Linked DNA regions of Homo sapiens: region 2 is linked to region 1. The links are contacts of gene promoters, found by promoter capture Hi-C in human tissues and cell types (Jung and others, 2019). All regions are on one chromosome and are shown on one strand. The core of a region is centred on a gene start or on the middle of the fragment in contact, and the rest is flanking DNA. Distances in the headings are between cores, read along the strand shown.

What was found. Contacts are between HindIII fragments. The study calls those that stand out against the background at their distance.
Region 2: a contact is called between a fragment that was not itself captured here and the fragment with the promoter of IL26 in region 1, in 1 of the 25 tissues and cell types used here (hippocampus).

What each region holds. Positions count from the first base shown.
Region 1 is chr12:68,222,390-68,229,419 of GRCh38, forward strand. IL26 (interleukin 26) reads right to left here and starts at 3,421. Exons shown (of 5, transcript NM_018402.2): 1 at 3,197-3,421; 2 at 3,055-3,111; 3 at 2,760-2,894. The coding sequence starts at 3,367. The HindIII fragment of the contact is 9,012 bases long and covers 1,451-7,030 here.
Region 2 is chr12:67,992,706-67,999,735 of GRCh38, forward strand. IFNG-AS1 (IFNG regulatory antisense RNA 1) reads left to right here. Exons shown (of 4, transcript NR_104125.3): 2 at 3,236-3,368. Among named protein-coding and RNA genes, the nearest start is that of IFNG-AS1, 6.8 kb to the left of the region's middle. The HindIII fragment of the contact is 7,498 bases long and covers 620-7,030 here.

The sequences.
Region 1 (7,030 bases), core at 2,171-4,670:
GCAAGTAGGCTGTGTGCCAAAATTCTGTGTAAATCAGCTGTTCAGAACACAGACAGCATTTAACTCTGCAGCAGCACTACCAATGCAGCATTCATTGCTCAATCAACCCCTCAGAATCCTGTTTAGCCTATAGCATCATACTAACCTAAGCATTATCCCAGAGTACCGCCTCCAGGAAACAGAATGGGCCATTTCCTTCTGTCTCCCGATCGTGGAAGAAGCCTTGGATCAGTTTTAAAATATGTCAAGGTTCTGCGGAAAGCTTTCTAAAGCTCAGAGCGTGCAGAACGGAAGGCCCCCTCTCACAGTCCCCCCTTTCAAGAAGGGACTTGACCAATTGTGACTTGATCACTACTGCTCTGAATCCCCAGAGCTTTGTTTTACTTATTTTTCCCACAACAACCTCAATAGTACGGACGGCAGGGGAAATACGGCAAGTATAATTAGTTTCAATAGGTTGACCATTTATACATTGATTACATTTAGTGTCCGTTTTTATTAACAAAATATCATATTTAAATTAATGTTGTTTACTTCATGTTTTATAACTTCTGTCTGCTAAGCCCTCTCCCAACCACTGATTCAGAGATTCATAGAGTAGGTGCTCAGTTAATTTGTATTAAACAGACAGATACCAGTTTCTGCTGCCAGAAATATAAAATTATGTTTGGCTGAAACATTATAGACACCAGGCCAGTTACCTTTTCCCTAAATCAATGTCTGCAGTCTTTCTAACGCTCAGGCCAATCCTGCCGCTTTATGTTTCACGGGGGAGCTTGCTTTACCCCAGGGCATAAACTGCACAGCTTGTAAGACAACTGATGCTCACACTGATAGGCTTGAGGTGGGAGCAGGGAAGAAGGAAAGCGCGGAGTTACGTGTTGCCTAGCGAGATTGATGAGATGATGTGTTCGTATTTGGCCACAGGAGGGAGCCAGACCCTTTGGGAAGCAGCAACAACCAACCAGAGCGGCGCCACACTGTCCCACCCACTTTAGGAAAACTTCACCAGAAACAAACCAAGAAAAACCAGAGTTCCTAGACATATCCAGGTTTCCTAAGCTTTTCATCTAGAATATTGTTCGTTTTAGGTTATAACTGTCGCTATGTGTTCTCTAGCTATTTGGGTCAACAAAACCAAATTAGTAATGAAAACCTGACATGGATTTGGGGGTTCTGACCAGACACTCTGTACTGTATCAGGCAAGGATTTAACAATGCAACTTAAATTTAAGAGACTATTTATAGTTACACATGTACTTTCTTCATAAGGTTGTCTTATAGGTTTAAGCATAGAACAAAATTTCAGGCACCAGAACTGGCCCAGAGAATTCTCCCTGTGTTTTGCAAAGAGGTATCAATTTGTAATTTCTTTTTATCAGTGTTGTAATTTTAATAAAATATGAGAGTTTATAAAAAAACATGCAATCCAAACCTAAGTAAGGGTATAACAAACACAAACTAAGCAAAGAAATAGAGAACTTAAATTTGGTGGTTTTTTTTTTTTTTTTTTGCTTGTTTTTTTCTTTTTAACCTAGCCGATCTACTCACACTCATAAAATGCCTCATGTACTCTGGGCTGAAATTTGGGTTACGGAGCACTTTAGTTGACCACAAGAAAAAAACATCTTAACTCTTAAAAAATAAACACCCCCCCCCTCTAATGGCCCAGTGTTTAAGTCTCAGTGACCATGATGCCCAGGATGAAGAGCTCCTTTCCAACTGGCTTCCCAAGGATTGCAATAAGGCTCCCAACCCAACCTTTGTACCATCTGCAAGCTACAACTGCAGGAGGCTGGAGAAAGCATACTTGGACCCCAACCAAGGGCACAGAAAAGCTTCAATATTCCCCACAGAGGCAACTCGACTAACATTGCACAGATTCTGGCTCAGTGTTTTTGTTTTGTTTTGTTTTGTTTTGTTTTGTTTTGTTTTGTTTTGTTTTCTGCACTGGTCTTTATTGCTGTGGAATTTTTCATAGAAATGTGATCACTTTTACCTTCTTAATTAATTCTCCACTGCTTGCTATGACAGTGACCATACTGAGGCATCAAATAATTTAGGTACCAAAGAAGGCATGTCTATCCCTTTTTAAGTTTTTTACTGAGATTATGCCTTAAAAGGGGCACAAATATTTTTTTAAAAACATAAGTAAATAAGAAAAAGGGCATCAGTTAGTTATTATTGTTATGGGAAAGAAGGAAGGAAGGAAAGAGAGAGAGAAAGAAAGAAAAGGAAGTAAAGAAAGAAGGAAGGAAGGAAAAGAAAGAAAGAGAGAGGGAGGGAAGGAGGGTGGAGGAAGAGAAAGGGGAGAGGGAGGGAGGGAGAGGGAAGGAAGGGAGGGAGGGAGGGAAGAAGGGAGAGAGGGAGAGAGGGAGGAAGGGAGAGAAAGAGAGACTTAGAATAGTGTTTGGCACAAAGTTGGTACTCAAGAAATATTAAATGGATGAATGGATTACTTGGGAATCACATAATGAGAGAATGATTTTAAAGTATTTATTTGAAAACCATGTCATGTTACTTTAGCTCTCTTCAGTGTGTTTTATGAGCCATTCTTTAAGAAATAATAAATAGCAGCATTCTGAGTAATGTACAGTTATTTAATGCTATTTCCCTGGTGATGACCTCTCCATTTGGACTACAAGCCAACAATTACAAAGCTCGTTTTACTCACCCTTTGGTGTGAGACAGATTCTTACATGCTGACTTCTAAACAGGTTTCTAGGATCAAATGCACAGTATTTGTTGTGTATACTTACACAGTGGCTCAATTTCTGCCTAAGGCTATGAAAGTCCTCCACAAAGCGTATTTTCTTGCAGCCTTGCAATTGCAGTTGACCAAAAACGTCTTCCATGAAGAAGGACAGAAGCTGTTCTTGAAATTGACAGTTTTTCTAAAAATAAGATACAAGAAATTGCATATGGTAAATTATGAATCGTTTTTTAATGTCCCCCGATCATTACTTAATTACTCTCTGAAAAAAATTTAAATGCAGGGGGAAATAAACATCAAATAAGTGGAAATGTAAAAAAGAAGAAGACTTTCTGACTTACCATAAACTGCTTTTTTGTTTTCTTTTTTAATAATCGTATATTTTTTATGCGGTCTTCCTACAATAATACAAAGAGAAATAAGTTGTATCCAAGATTGTAAATGTCCTTGAGGTCATGATTTTAAGCAGAGCCTAATACTTACTGGAATCGTTGCTTTGAGCCATGCTGCTTTGATATAGAGAGCGTCAACAGCTTGGGACAATGTTCCCCTTGGGTAACAACTTTTGGTGAAGGAAGATTGCTTGTGCTTGGCAATGGCAAGAGACAGAGTGACTAACAGCAACCCACACCTCAAAATGAAATTCACCAGCATTTCCCTTCACCCCACTCAGCGTGTGTCACTCACAGCAGCCCAAGAGATACTAATGCCGGTTAGATGAGAGGATAACCTACTTAATGTAGCCCTCAAAGCCACCAGTCCAATGAGGTGCTGTGAAAGATAATTTACAGTTTATATAGAGGAAGATCACTTTGGTTGTTCTATTTTTTTAAGAGCTTGCTTCATAGTCAAAAAACGCTGATCACACCATCAACTGACATTATTTAAAAGCTCAGCCTTACTGGTAAGATTGCGTTCTCATTTCCAAAAGAATTCAGAATTTCAGTTGCCTATCACAGCAGCTTGCATTATTTTAAAAGGCATGCCAATAAAAACAGGATGATTTCCAGGGGGCTGTGTCATAATTTTTTAAACCCCATGTGAAAAATCTCCTTTTCTAACCAGAATCCCAGAAAAAATTTAACAAGGGGGTAGAAATGGGCAGCCCCAGGAAATCTGCTCACGATTCAAATGGGTCTTGTGTTTATTGCTTGCCACATCCTTCACCCAGCTTCCCCCAGAGGCCATTATTCTGCAGATAGCAGCGAGAACATTTCCAGTGCAGAAACAGTAACTCCCCTTAACATATTCAAGATATGTTTGGAACTGGACCTGGGACTAAGGTCCACAATGTAATAAGTTCTCTGTCATCTCTGTCCAAATTTACCACTCAGACTTTCCTTATAACTCCCAACTTCCAGGAGAGTGCAAATTCCTTGAAGAAAGAGACCGTATATTTTCACCTTTGAATACAGCATCTACCATGGCACCTCATCTAAAGAAGTGCATCCATTATTAATTGAGTAAATACTTTTGTCACATCATGACGTGCTACCATAACTGCTTTATTTTTTAAATTTCTTCCATTCACACATTTTTATTAAAGACTTGCCTACACAAAAACCAGTGCTAGGTATGAGGGAGCCACCAAGGAGGATTCTCCATAAACTCCCATCCTCATTTCTGTCCCAGTTCTTCCTAGACAGTAAATATGGCTCATTCTGGGTAGCAGCCCCAATATAAGAAGAGGGCAGCCCAGAGTCATATTCTGAGAAGCAGAGATAGGTCACTAAAGCCTAGAATGAATAGAGTTAATGTGTATCAGGGATAAGTCAACACTAGAAATCTGGTTGTGAGTTAAGAGAGTCATCAAAACTAGTCAGTCAATAACAAGCATCAGAACCCAAGACTAAATTCCAAATGAAAGCAAGCAGGGCTGTCAAAAAAACAAAAAAAAAACAAAAAAAAAACAAAAAAAAAACAACCAAGAAGAAAAAGGGAAAATAAGAAAAATGCTTGGACTGATGTCTGCTGTTTCAAAACATGAGTGGATCTCTTGGAAGAATCCAAGCCTTATTTCCCCAGGAGCAAGATCACTGGTAACGACACACCCTATCAATTGAGATGAGAACTATTCACAAAAAAACTATAGCAGAAGTCAGCTGACTGGGAGTGCTGAGTGAAGTTCACTGAAATTTTATGAAATTCAGAAAAAGAAAGAAGTCGTTTCAGTTGGGAGTGGCTGAAAGGATGTTTGAACTAGGACATGAAATACACAAAGGGATTTATTTATTTATTTATTTATTTATTTGAGCAGAGGAATGCCTAGTATTATAAGTTCCTTTGGAAAGAAACAGTGTGAACTTGGAGGGATCAAAAGCTCAAATGCCCTTAGAGGGCGAGGATTAATACAAACACACTGGGTGGGTAGATACCAGATAATTGCGGCTAATATGCTTATATGGTCACCAGTCTTAAAGTCTGTCTAATCACATAGCCTGTTAACACACTGTGCTATAAACACAGAGTGCAATAAAAGGATGACACAAAACACCTCCCAGAGCCATATACTGCCGTGAGCAGCCAATTTCAGATCCCTGGTGTGTACCAACAAAACTTGTGGCTAATATTGATAACTCAAGTGGCTAATATTGATAAATTAAGTTGATGTGGGTTCTGGCTATTTTTTAACTTCTGGTAGTTACATTTCCATAAATACCTTACATCCCTCAAATCATCATCACACAAGGAAAATCCATATATAGTCCTAGAATGCCTCTGCTTTGGTTTGCAGCCAACTCAAGAAAACTGTGGCCATTTCTGTATGAATGACCATATCACCCACTGGATCACAGTCATCCTCCATCTTAGTCAGCAAACCTGCCTCATTAGGGTCCTTTGATAAGCAGGAAGATCTGATCTCAAAGAGTAAATAGTGGCCACTAAAAAGGACGTTCAAAACATGGGCCCTGAACACAGTTCCAAAGAGGAGCCCCCAAAGTGTCCTAAATAACAGAAGAGCCATTAGAATAAATGCATAATACTGTAGGAGCACCAACTGAAAAGATAATTCTCTGCTTCACTGAATGTATATTTATTATATCGCTTTCATGAGTATCTTTTTTTTTTTTTTTTTTTGACACGGAGTCTCGCTCTGTCACCAGGCTGGAGTGCAGTGGCACCATCTCAGCTCACTGCAGTATCTGCCTCCCAGGTTCAAGTGATTCTCCTGCCTCAGCCTCCAGAGTAGCTGGGACTACAGGCACGCACCCTGATGCCCAGCTAATTTTTTGCATTTTAATAGAGATGGGGTTTCACCGTGTTGGCCAGGATGGTCTCGATCTCCTGACCTCGTGATCCACCCGCCTTGGCCTCCCAAAGTGCCGGGATTACAGGCATGAGCCACCGCGCCCAACCACTTTCATAAGTAACTTACACAGAAAGTATAAAAGTTGGTATTAATTACAAAGAGATTGGGTTTCAAAACTCTGATTCACTCTGATTCTGTATGGCCTTGGGGAAGTTATTAGTCCTCTCTGGGCTTCCGTTTTTGTCATCATTAAAATGGAACAATAATCACACCTAACTACAGAGGGTTGTCGTGAGCAAAAATACCGTAATCTAAATAGAATGTCTAGCACAATGACAGCTGTAGAGGCACTCTGGAAGTGGTAGCTACTGATTTATTATTTATGAAATAATAAATAAGAAATGCATGTGTAATACTCTGAATAATGTTAAAGTTTATCATGAGCCTTCAGGAGCCTTCAGAAATGGTTGAAGAAAGTGAGAAAAGTGAAGGAAATGCAAAAATCTGACAATATGTCCAAAAAAATACATAGGCATAAGGAATTGAGTTAATCCCACACACATCCAGAGGGTGAACTTGGACCATTAAGAGGATATTTTAGGGAGGCCACTCTTGTGTAATGTACAGGAGAATATTCAAACAATTGATCTGCCAAAAATATAATTGACTGCCCCAATTTCCAAAAGCCAGCATGGCGGTCATTTTCCTTAAAGTTTAAGTCCTCTCCCACCCAAAAGAATGCCAGCTGCCCTCTCTGATGGCCCAGTGTAGCCCATGAGCAAACTCAGCTCACCAACTCCTGTGCAGAATCTTAGCTCACTTCGAGTCTTCAGTGACACCGCTTTTTATCTGCTTTCCTCCTATGGGGAAAAAACAACAACTAATTGTTGTTACTAACCTATTTGGTTGACACTGAAACACACCTTTTTTTTTTTTTTTTTTACATTTTAATGTCTCTTAAATGACAGTGTGCATTGTAATCCACAGTTATCCCCACCTGCGCAGTCCTGAACTTGGTCACAACCACTAATGATGACATCACTTCACTTGAACTGTGTGCATGGTTG
Region 2 (7,030 bases), core at 3,119-5,618, 230 kb before region 1:
CTAATCTAATTCCTTTCAGTTTATGGTATTTTGGTTACCAAATTAGACACTGTTTTTCTTTGAGTAAATATATCTCAAAGCAAGTGTTGACTTTGCACAGTAACAATGAAAGGTAAATTGTTTGCAAAAGTAGAGATAATATCACTGTGCCAACTTTAAGGTTCAGAAAACATCCCTTGATTTCGTATCCCATTTTCTTTCCCTTTGGTCCTCCCACCAGTTGATAACCACCATGAACAGCCAAAATACTGCATGCAAAATTATATTTGTGATATTTGCAGCTTGACTTAAGAAAATGAAGTAGCCGAAAATCTGAGAAATATGTCCTCTTGTCACTTTCCTGTCCTTGTGCAGTGCTGAGGGATTTCAGACACAAACAGGTCCCCATTAGGCTCGAATCACTTTGATAAATCTCTGATAAGCATCAAGGTTCTGGGGCTTTTTACAGAAAAGAATTTCTTTTTCTTTATTTTTTAATTTCTGAATTTCATTGGGCAGATGAAAGTTCCTCTGTTTCTTTAGAAAATCACCCTCTGTTTTTTACGCAGTTCATGATGTACTTTCTTCTTTCACTCGGACAGGATTTAGAAGAGCAATCTGGCATTCATCTCAGTGAAAGCATCAAAATATCTAACTCTGTCAGATCATTAAATAGAACACTATATAGTTATAAAATACACATCTTAAACCATTTATAAAAGGTCATTGAGGAATCTTAAGTGATCTGAAAAATGTTCATGAGATAAAGCTCAGGCAGTGGAAATAAACTATATGTATATGTGCATATCAAAAACAGTTCCATCTCTATCTTTCAATCTATTTCTCATCAATCTATCTAGATAAAAGAAATATACCAAAATGCTAACAATGAATATCTTCCAGTGAAGAGATCATGAATTATTAAACACTTAAAAATATATTTCTGATTTTCCAATAGTTCTACCATGAACATATATTATTTTTATGACCTAAAATGATTAGAACAAAAGGCACTTATTAATAAAAAAGATAATGTAACAAAGTTCTAAGAAGACATAGTCTTATAGTATGGAGGCTTGATAAAGAAATTTAATATATTCAGTTACTTTTCTTTTGACTTTCCTTTTATTTTTCTTTTTGCAAACTCTTTCTGAGTTGAACATAGGTTTGGGAAAATAACAGAATTGTAACTTTCCACATATATTTCTTAAACATACGTTTAGTAAATTTAGACATGTACAAGTATGTCTAAATGGTAGCCTGCTGTGGTTTATTTGCATAAAGGGCAGAGGGTCTCAGTAATAACAAGTTATTATTTTCTTAAGGTTGATGGTTAGTACCATCATGTTCCCCCCAAAACCCCACTCATTGTGGCATGGGGAATAATTTAACCTTCCAAGCATTGGGAGGCATGTCAGTAGAGGAAGGCAGTCATCATCACAGGAGAGTTGTTGTACACAGGTTGAATTGGGGTTGTCCTTTGGCTAAAGAACTCAGTTGCACCTTCATACAGTGACAACAAGCTTCCTGCCCCTCCTTCAGAGAAGAGCCATGGCCCTCAGTAGAGGGAGCTATAACAGAGAATGAGTTAAATGAATGCTTTATTAACCAGTGTTGGTTCAAATCAATAAGTCACAGAATGCCCAGTTTCATTCATATCCGTCAACGCATCGTTACATCCATATGGAGGTACAGAAAGGAAGGACAGTAGGTGGATGATGTTGTGGGGATCTCCTACCCCTCCTGAGTTCCTATTACATCTATTATAATCACAATCCTACACTTATTTCTTGAGTAAACAAATACGGAGATTTTTTAAATATGCTGCTTTATCCTAACTTGGTAAAACCCCTATATACAATTACCTAAAACTAGGGGGAGAATTTAAATACAGCTTTCAAAGCAATTTAGCAATTGTGTATGAAATGGACACACAACATGTCTGCCGCTATTCTAAACATTGTAAGGCTGAAGAAATAAGACACTCCTCCAAAAAGAACATCTAGGGATCTTATCTGGATGATGAAATAGATGTACGTGAAGCACACAAACAACATTACATGTTCTAGGAGGTGCAGTAAGATGAAGCATCATAAGTGATGAAAGTGATCCACCGCAGATTTAAAGTATGGACCCTGGAATTGGCTTCCCTGAATTCCAATCTCAGTTCATTTTATTATTGGCTGTGTTTAAAGAAACTTAGGCAAGTTACCTAACCTCTTTATGCCTCAGTTTCCTCATCCAGAAAGTGGTGAAACTAATATGTTTCATAAATTGTATATAATATGCTTACAAGAGTGTCTTAATACACAGATGAAGCTCAATAAACAATTACTTTTATTACTATCAAATGTCAAGAAAACTAGTTTAGAGACTACATGTGATACTTAGAAAATCTTTATTGCCAGGGTTGGACCAGGCTTTTGAGAGAAAGTGCCTTTTAGAAATGGCAGGGTGGGCTGAGAGTGGTGGCTCACGTCTGTAATCCCAGCACTTTGGGAGGCCAAGGTGGGAGATCATGAGGTCAAGAGATCGAGACCATCCTGGCCAACATGGTGAAACCCTGTCTCTACAAAAAATACAAAAACTAGCTGGGCATGGTGGCGCGTGCCTATAGTCCCAGCTACTCAGGAGGCTGAGGCAGGAGAATCGCTTGAACCCAGGAAGCGGAGGCTGCAGTGAGCTGAGATTGTGCCACTGCACTCCAGCCTGGTGACAGAGTGAGACTCCATTTCAAAAAAAAAAAAAAAAAAAAGGGCCGCGCACTGTGGCTCACGCCTGTAATCTTAGAACTTTGGGAGGCCGAGGCGGGCAGATTACGAGGTCAGGAGATCGAGACCATCCTGAATAACATGGTGAAACCCTGTCTCTCCTAAAAATACAAAAAATTAGCCAGGCATGGTGTCATGTGCCTGTATTCCCAGCTATTCGGAAGGCTGAGTCAGGAGAATCACTTGAACCTGGGAGGCAGAGGTTGCAGTGAGCCAAGATTGCGCCACTGCACTCCAGCCTGGGTGACAGAGTGAGACTCGGTCTCCAAAAAAAAAAAAAAAGAAAAGAAAAGAAATGGCAGGGTGAGATATTCAAATAAAACTTTCAGTTTGCCTTTTACAAAAGACTGAGGATTATTTATCCCAACAAATGCAAAATCATTTCCATAAAGAGTAGAAAATATAAGTGGTAGGAAGAAATATATCAGCTGATTATTTTCTTTAAAACAAGAATCTCAGATCACTCATTTGACATTTCTCTTCAGAGTTTGAAAAGTTCATGACAGCTCACAGCTGATGATGGTGGCAATCTTAAGGATACAGAAAGCTCATTCCTCATGCAGGGAAGAAGAAAATATTCTAAAGAAGAGATAAGCATATTCCATGAAATCAAAAAAGGTAGGAAAACAATATTTATTCATTAACTCCTTCACTCACTCAACGAACATATATTTAGTGCCTACTATGTGTTAGGCATGGTACCAGAATCTGGAATCCAAAATTTAAAAAGTCTCTGTCCTGAAGAGTTTACAAGACAGGGCAGTAAGTAAGTGATCAAAATACCGTATGATAGCAATTAGTACAAGGCATGGAGCTGAGCCTGGATAGTAAAGCAGAGGCCATGTGAATGAGTTTTGTCTTTATTCTGATACAAATGTGAATCCATTGAAAGATTTAAACAAAGAGAATGCCATCTAACTAGTTTCATTCTTAAAAGATCATACTTGTTGTATAGTGAGAACAAATTGAATGGTGAATCAGAGCTGAGATTTTGTTATTTTTATAACTACAAAATCTTGTATAGTTTTCTACACCTATAAAGTACAATGAGTTCACACCCTCTTAAATCTATGTAGCTGTGTGTCCCTCCATGCTATTATTCATCTAGCAGTCTGCCTTCTGCTCCCACTCATTTCCCTACAATGAGTAACAGAACTGCAAGTAGACAAAGAAGGATGGAGAATGAACTTGGCTTCTCTCTTTCAAATGGAAGCTAGCAGAAAAGCTCAGGAACTCACACCTTGAGGAGAGGGTAATATGCAGTGGTTAATAACATAGGATATTGATTTAAAAACCAGTGTTGTCCATTGCTCATTCTATGACCTTAGGCAAACTTGTCAATATTTCTGCTCTTAATATCTTTACTTTATGATGGTAATAAAGTTATTTCTATCTTTTATTTGTCAGACTCAGCTAACTACTATAAGAAATAAATCAAATCTCAGAGGCTTAACACAATAAAAATGTATTTCTGGTTCAAGTTAAGAAAAGGCATTAACTAAAACAATAAGATAAGTTATTATAATATAAAATAGCAGGATAAAAACATTACATAGATAACTTACTATTTTATATACATAAACAATGATTATTTAGGAGATGTAATAACAGAAAAACCCTCATTTATAATAACAACAAAGAACATGAAACACTTAAATAAACTTAAAAGGAAATGTGCAAAAACTGTATGAGGAAAGCATTTCTGAAAGACATAAAACACTGAAGAAGAGCCAAGAAAACACTTAAAAAGAAAAACTAGAAGGAAGAACTAGCCCTATCACACATTAAAACATACTATAAAGTCTTCATAATTAAGAGTGTAGGATGCAGGTGCATGACTAGGCAAACGAACTGATAGAATAAATTAGAAAGCCCAGAAATTGACTCAAGTACATATGGAAATTTAGTATATGATAAGTGACATCACAAAATTGCTGGGGCAAGAAAATTTTAATAGATGGTTCTGGGACAACTGGATAGGTATTGGGAATGAAATAAGTTTAGATCCATATCTCACACCATATACAAGCATAAAGACCCAATGAAAAAGAGATATAATATAAATGTAAAAAAAAATTTTTTTTTAAATAGCAGAAGAAAACATGGGTGAATTTCTATTTAACGTTGGTATAGGGAAAGATTTTCTAACCATGACTCAAAATCCAGAGGCAATTAAAAAAAAAAGATTGACGAGTGGCCACATAAAAATAAAAATTTTAATGCATGGCAAAAACACCATAAACAAAGTCAAACAACAAACAAACTTTAAAAAAATGCTTGCAACATTAATCTTTCTATAATAAAGTATATATTCTGCTAATATATTAAAAACTCCTAAAATTGAAAGAGAAGGGATTTTAAAAAAATATTGAACTAGATAAAGAAACAAGAGTAGATAATTCACAAAAAGATATATAAAAAACCTTGTAAGATAGCAAAAAATGTTTAATATCATTCATAACTAGTGAAATACAAATTAAAACTTTATAGGAATATTATTTTTCACTTATCAGATTGGCAAAAAAATTAAAAATATGGCAGTCATCTGTAGGGAAAGAGATACCCTCACACATTGCTGGTGACAATGTCAAGTGGTACAAGCTTTATAGAGGGAAATTTGGTAATGCCTAAGAAACTACACATACACTTATTTTTTAATTCAGCAATTCCACTTCTAGGAATTTACCCAGAAGATACACCTCCGATAAGGCAAAAATATATTTGCACAGGGTTATTAATTGTGACATTGTTGTTATTGCAAAATATTGGAAACAATGTAAATATCTGAACACAAGAGAGTAGTTAAACAAATTGTGTACCTCTACAGGCTCTAAGAGAAAATAAAATAGAAAAGGATTCCTGTGAACCTATTTGGATTGTTTTTCAGAACACAATCCAAATAGGTTTTTCTTAAGTGAAAAAGAAAAAAGACAAAGTGCAAAAGAATATCTATTATGTGTCAACTTCTATGAAAGAGAGACCAAAAAAAAAAGAAAAAGAAAAAGAAAGAAAACCACAAAAAGGTTAACCCAGGAACTAAGATTGCTTATATACAGGGATAACAGGAAGGAGTTGGGGTGCAGGGGATGATGGGGGTGGGAAAGGAACACTTCTCTGAGTATAACTCTTTCTACAGTTCTGACTTTTAGAAACCATGGTAATGTTTCATTACCAAAAATATAAATAAATGACTAAAATCAAGCAGGGTGAAGGGAGAACCCAAAATTCAATACAAACAATAACAAATGAGCCTAACTCAATTACAAACCACACTGAAGGGGATGAGGAAGAAAAGAATGAACTGAAGACAACTTTGAAATCCAATGTATTATTATATACATGTATTATTAATACAATGTACATATTATATACTCTAAGACCAAAGACCAACAGGAATGTACACAAACATTTTACATTAGTTTGCAAGCTCCCCAGCCCCAAAGAGGCATTGGTTAGTAATTATAAACCCAGTTAATGTTTATTTTAGGATTGTGCAAATAAGTAAATAATATTTGGATAACAAGAGGGAGATTTCTTACTTTTAGAGAAATGAGTTACTAGTAAGGAAAGGAGGAAGGCTAGAATTAACACTGTAATACTGGACTGAAATCAAATGTATTGGTATGAACTGATGGTGATAGATAGATGATAGATAATAGATAATAGATAAGATAGATAGATAGATATAAATAGGAATCAAATGTATGAACTCGTGGTGATAGATAAATGATAGATAGATAATAGATGATACAGAGATAGAGACTTAGATTATGTGTATGTACACATGTTTATTATAAACAGATTTTTATCTAGCTTTGTCTGATGAGAGGGCCTAAAAGTAATGACACCAGTAGCAATGAACACAAAGAGCACCTAGATCTTGCTTTCTAGATGACATTATTTAATAAAAGAAACCAAGGATCCTTGAGAAATGACTGAGCTCATGGCTGGGGCAGGGAAAGTACTGTGTAAGATTATCCTGGAACATCTTGTGCCAGAAAGAAAAGAAGCAGTAAGAACAAAATGGTGGACACATGTTGAAAGGACACAGAAGCCAACTTGAAGGGGCCCCCAGTGGTCAATTGTGAGCCAATTTGAAGAACAAAGTAAATTATGGTAATAATGGAGTATAGCATATAGAATAAAATAAGTATTCATGACTGCATACTGATATACTTCAATAATGAAATAACTAGCAAATGGGAGAGAAGGGAAAGCTCTTCTTTACAGTAGAATTATAATTAACGAGTGTCAAATAAATTATTAAAGTAAAAAAAATC